Regions from separate parts of the Homo sapiens genome. Here region 1 is linked to region 2. Evidence: promoter capture Hi-C in 16 types of primary human blood cells and fetal thymus (Javierre and others, 2016). All regions are on one chromosome and are shown on one strand. The core of a region is centred on a gene start or on the middle of the fragment in contact, and the rest is flanking DNA. Distances in the headings are between cores, read along the strand shown. Region 1 overlaps ZNF561-AS1 (ZNF561 antisense RNA 1). Region 2 holds the start of EIF3G (eukaryotic translation initiation factor 3 subunit G).

The links. Contacts are between HindIII fragments. The CHiCAGO score rates a contact against its expected background, and 5 or more counts as called.
Region 1: a fragment that was not itself captured here is called in contact with the fragment with the promoter of EIF3G in region 2 in 1 of 17 cell types (total B cells); the score reaches 5.3 in total B cells.

What each region holds. Positions count from the first base shown.
Region 1 is chr19:9,623,117-9,625,891 of GRCh38, forward strand. The region is part of intron 1 of ZNF561-AS1 (ZNF561 antisense RNA 1); the gene reads left to right. Among named protein-coding and RNA genes, the nearest start is that of ZNF561-AS1, 3.0 kb to the left of the region's middle. The HindIII fragment of the contact is 3,033 bases long and covers 1-2,775 here.
Region 2 is chr19:10,118,649-10,121,392 of GRCh38, forward strand. EIF3G (eukaryotic translation initiation factor 3 subunit G) reads right to left here and starts at 1,251. Exons shown (of 11, transcript NM_003755.5): 1 at 1,192-1,251; 2 at 1,006-1,052; 3 at 440-523; 4 at 220-308; 5 at 20-79. The coding sequence starts at 1,211. RefSeq lists enhancers at 1-753, 754-1,509. The HindIII fragment of the contact is 4,736 bases long and covers 1-2,744 here.

The DNA.
Region 1 (2,775 bases), core at 130-2,629, 500 kb before region 2:
TATTTTTTAGAACCTGCTGATTCCATTGGGTTTTCTTTTTCTTTCTTGCTTGCTTGCTTGCTTGCGACAGATCTCACTGGATCAGACCAGGCTGGAGTGCAGTGGTGTGATCTCAGCTCACCGCAACCTCCACCTCCCAGGTTCAAGCAATTCTCCTGCCTCAGCCTCTGGAGTAGCTGGGATTACAGGCGCCTGCCACCACGCCCAGCTAATTTTTGTATTTTTAGTAGAGAACGATTTCACCAGGTTGGCCAGGCTGATCTCGAACTCCTGGCCTAAAATATCTGCCAGGCCAAGATGGTAGGATCGTTTAAGGCCAGGAGTTTAAGACAAGCCTGGGCTACACAGCAAAACCCCATCTCTCTATATATATATAAAAAAAATTTAAATTAAAAAATGTTTTGTTTTGTTTTGTTTTTTTGAGACATAGTTTCGCTCTGCCACCCAGACTGGAGTGCAGTGGTGCGATCTTCACTCACTGCAAACTCTGCCTCCTGGGTTCAAGCCATTCTTCTGCCTCAGCCTCCTGAGTAGTTGGGACTACAGGCATGTGCCACTGCGCCCAACTAATTTTTGCATTTTTAATACAGACATGGTTTCATCATATTGACCCAGCTGGTCTCAAAGTCCTGACCTCGTGATCCATCCACCTGGTCCTCCCAAAGAGCTGGGATTACAGGCATGAGCCACTGCCCCAGCCAAAAATATGTATTTCTGTTGTTATTTTTCTGATCTTACCACATGGGCCAGGAACACATTTCCTACGTTGTAAAATAGCACTGATACCAGACATTCTCCCCAAGATTATTCAGAAATGTAACATACTCCCAATAAAAATACCAAAAGTTTTTTTCTGGAGTTAAGTACATTGATACTGAAGTTTATGTGGAGGAACAAACATCTGATAATAACCAAGAAAACAAAAACAAAAGCAATGATGAGCAGCAGATATTAAAACATACTATTGACAGTTTTCATGCAAGGCAAAGAATTACATTATTTTAAAATAAAAATAAAGTCCGGGCACAGTGGCTCACGCCTGTAATCCCAGCAATTTGGGAGGCCGAGGCAGGCAAATTACCTGAAGTCGGGGGTTTGATACCAGCCTGGCTAACATGGTGAAACCCTGTCTCTACTAGAAGTACAAAAATTAGCAAGCGTGGTGGCACATGCTTGTAATCCCAGCTACTTGGGAGGCTGAGGCAGGAGAGTTGCTTGAGCCTGGGAGATGAAGGTTGCAGTGAGCCGAGATTGTGCCACTGAATTGCAGCCTGGCTGACAGAGTGAGACTCTGTCTAAAAAATTAATTAATTAATTAATTTAAAAAACATACTATAAAGCCTCTATAATTAAAACTATGTGGTACTAGCACGTGAAACAGAAACTAATAAAATATCAAAAAATAGACCCATGAACATGTAGAAATTTGGTTCATAAATGTATTTTGCCAGATGCGGTGGCTCATGCCTGTATCCTAGCAATTTGGGAGACTGAGGCAGGAGGATCACTTGAGGTCAGGAGTTCAAAACCAGCCTGCCCAACATGGTGAAACCCCATCTCTATTAAAAATACAAAAACATAGCCGGGTTCGGTGGCTCATGCCTGTAATCCCAGAACTTTGGGAAGCCGAGGCAGCCGGATCATGAGGTCAGGAGTTCGAGACTAGTCTGACCAACATGGTGAAATCCCATCTCTACTAAAAATACAAAAATTAGCTGGGTGTGGTGATGCATGCCTGTAATCTCAGCTACTCAGGAGGCTGAGGCAGGAGAATTGCTTGAACCCAGAAGGCGGAGGTTGCAGTAAGCTGAGATCGCACCACTGCACTCCAGCCTGGGCAACAGAGTGAGACTCTGTCTCAAAAAAGAAAAAAAATTTAGCCAAGCATGGCCGAGCATGCTGGCTCATGCCTGTAATCCCAGCACTTTGGGAGGCTGAGGCAGGCAGATCACGACGTCACGAGATCGAGACCATCCTGGCCAACTTGGTGAAACCCCGTCTCTACTAAAAATAGAAAAATTAGCTGGCATGGTGGCGGGTGCCTGTAATCCCAGCTACTCAGGAGGCCGAAGTAGGAGAATCGCTTGAACCCAGGAGGCGGAGGTTGCAGTGAGCCAAGATCGCTCCCCTGCACTCCAGCCTGGCGATAGAGCGAGACTCCGTCTAAAAAAAAAAAAAAAAAAATTAGCCAAGCGTTGTGGTGGGCGCCTGTAAGCCCAGCTACTCGGGTGGCTGAGGCAAGAGAATTGCTCAAACCTGGGAGGCAGAGGTTGCAGTGAGCCGAGATCACGCCATTTCACTCCAGCCTGGCGACACAGCGAGACTCTGTCTCAAAAAAAAAAAAAAAAAAAAAAAAAAAAGCCGGGTGCATTGGCTGATGCCTATAATTCCAGCACTTTTGGAGGCAGAGGCGGGTGGATCACCTGAGGTCACGAGTTAGAGACCATCCTGACCAACATGAAGAAACCCCGTCTCTGCTAAAAATACAAAATTAGCTGGGCATGGTGGCACATGCTTATAATCCCAGGTACTCAGGAAGCTGAGGCAGGAGAACCGCTTGAACCCAGGAGGCGGAGGTTGGGGTGAGTGGAGATCGTGCCATTGCATTCCAGCCAGGGCAACAAGAGAGAAACACCGTCTAAAAAAAAAAAGTGGCATTTCAGATAAATGGGGCAAAAAATGCCATTTGTAACAAATGGAAGGTCTAAGATAGCTGGTTAGCCATCTGAGAAAAGATGAAATTAAATCCATACTTCACAGCATATACAAGAATAA
Region 2 (2,744 bases), core at 1-2,500:
TGGGGAAGAAGAGCCTCACCTTCCTCCTTGCGACAGCCTTTGAAGCCTTCCGGGTCTCAATCCTGAAGGTGCGGACAATCTGAGGATGGGAGGGGAGAAGGGTCAGGCTCCTGGGACCAAGGGATCTCCTTTATCAACCTCCTCAACACACCCCACCCCATTCCGGTCTATGGGCCCCCAAGCACAAGGGTCCCCACTCCCTGCACCCCCCACCCTCACCTTGAACTTCTTGCCATCCTCATCTATCTTGTACTCTGTCACTGTCTTTATGTTTCCGTTGATGACCTCCTTGGGAGGCGGCAGTGGAGCTGGCAGAAGGGGAAAAACAGAGAAAGACTGAGCCCTGGGTCATGGGGATCAGGAGCGGCAGGGCTGGAGGGAGAGGCAGCCCGGACACCGAGTGGCAGTCCTCACTCACCTCCCGGCAGTCCTCACTCACCTCCCGGCAGTAGCTCTGGCTCTGGGCTGGTGTCACCTGTGGCCAGAGGGATCCCCTTGAGGAGCTCGCTGGTGACACATTTGTCTGCAAAAGGCAGCGTAGGAAGGAGGAGTCAGCTCCAGGGGCAGGAGCTCCCCAGCTGCGATGGAAGGGCTTTTGGGATGACGCCTACAGCAAAAGCGGAGAAAGGCAGGCCAAGGGCAGAGGGCTGGCCAGGCAACGCACTGGGATGGCCCTGTGGGGACTCGGAGTGGCAAGGATGGGAGATCCCTCGTAGGAAGGTGGGTGCCAGGCCATGAAGCCAACCAGGCGCCAGTAGAGAAACAGGAGACGGGAGATTACAACTTCCTCCCTGGAGGGGAACAGCTGGGAGGCAGTGGCATGGGAGGAAGAGGGACCCGCCGGGGAACACCTGGAGTTGGCAACAGGCGGGTCCCAAGGAGGATGGCGCGGGGCAGGGGCAGACCGTGACGGGGTACACGGTGCCAGACTGGGAGATGGAAGCAGGCGGCAGTCACACGGCTTGGGCCTGGCCGCGAATACCCCGGGCGACCGTGTACACTTACCGTCCTCCCCCTCCTCCTCCACCTGGTCGGCCCAACTGGGCTTCGAACTGCGGAAACAAATGTGTGGGGAACGAAGATTAAGTCAGCCAGGCCCGGCTCCCGCAGCCTCGGCGTACCCAGGCCCCATAATACTTCCCAGAGCACCCCAACCGCTTCCCGTGCCCCTTTCCGCGATCGCCGACTCACTCAAAGTCTCCAGTAGGCATCGCAAAAAGTATTCTCCACGCAGCCCAAGCCCGGCCAGAGAGCGGAAGCGGGCGAAAACGAGACTTCCGGTGCCGCCGTCGCCGCCTAGAGGGGCCCAGCCGCGGCACCCACAGCGACACCTGCGGACGGAGGTGGAGGCGCACGCGGCTGTGTATGCTACTGGGCGCTGCTGGTACCAGAGTAGGGCCAGCGGGGGCAGAGGCTGATTTCAGGGCTGGTCCTATTAACCTTTAAAATTAAAATAGGCCAGGCGAGGTGGCTCAAGCCTGTAATCCTCGCACTTTGGGAGGTCGAGGCGGGCGGATCACCTGAGGTAAGGAGTTCGAGACCAGCTTGGCCAACGTGGCGAAACCCCGTCACTACTAAAAACACAAAAATTAACTGGGCGTGGTAGTGCGTGCCTGCAGTTCCAGCTACTCGGGAGGCTGAGGCAGGAGAATCGCTTGAACCCGGGAGGCGGAGGTTGCAGTGAGCCGAGATCGCGCCACTGCACTCCAGCCTGGCGACAGAGCGAGACACCGTCTCAAAAAAAAAAAAAAAAAAAAAATTAGCCAGGCGTGGTGGTGGGCACCTGTAATCCCAGCTACTCGGGAGGCTGAGGCGGGAGAATCGCTTGAACCCAGGAGGCGGAGGCTGCAGTGAGCCGAGATCGCACCACTGCACTCCAGCCTGGGGCTGCAGAGTGAGACTCCGTCTCAGAAAAATAAGTAAAATTAAAATAAATAATAATAATCATAAAGCTCACTTATTGAGTGCTTATTGTATATGAAGCATGGTGAGGAGGATATTACTTCCATTTTACAGCTGAAGAAACTGAGGCTCAGACTGGGTGCAGTGGCGCCTGCCTGTAATCCCGCACTTTGGGAGACCAAGGCGTGGGGATGGCTTGAGGCCAGGAGTTTGAGACAAGCCTGGGCAACATAGTGAGACCCCTGTCTCTAAAAAAGAAAAAAAGAAAAAGAAAGAAAAAAGAAACCAAAGTTCGGGGAAAACAATCCTTTTGCTTAAACTGTTCCTTGTCTTCTTTCCCGATCCCAATGATTCAGATGCCAAGTGGCCTCCCCTCAGCCACTCCCTCTTCTTTTCTTTGTAGCATTCTTGGCTTTCCGGTATAATTTTGTGCATTTACTTGTTTATTGCTCAGCTCCTTGCTCTAAGCACAACCGTCCTCAGTCGAAGTGATTCATGATGACTCCCCAGGGGAAAAAACTGGTCCTCAGGGAGGAAAAAAATCTTAGATATTGTGGTCTTCCAAAGCCAGCTCTATCAGACAGCATTTATCCCTAAGTATTTAGTTTCTGCCTTTAGGGAGATATTAAATGTAATTAAATTGAAATTAATTTAGTTGATGTAAATTCAATTTTAGGATAATTCGGGTTTTCTCCTAAGAAGGGTGATAATGAACAAAAAACGTTTGACAATGTCGGACGCAGTGGCTCACGCCTGTAATCCCAGCACTTTGAGAGGCCAAGATGGGCAGATCTCTTGAAGTCAGGAGTTCGAGACCAGCCTGGGCAATATGGCGAAACCCC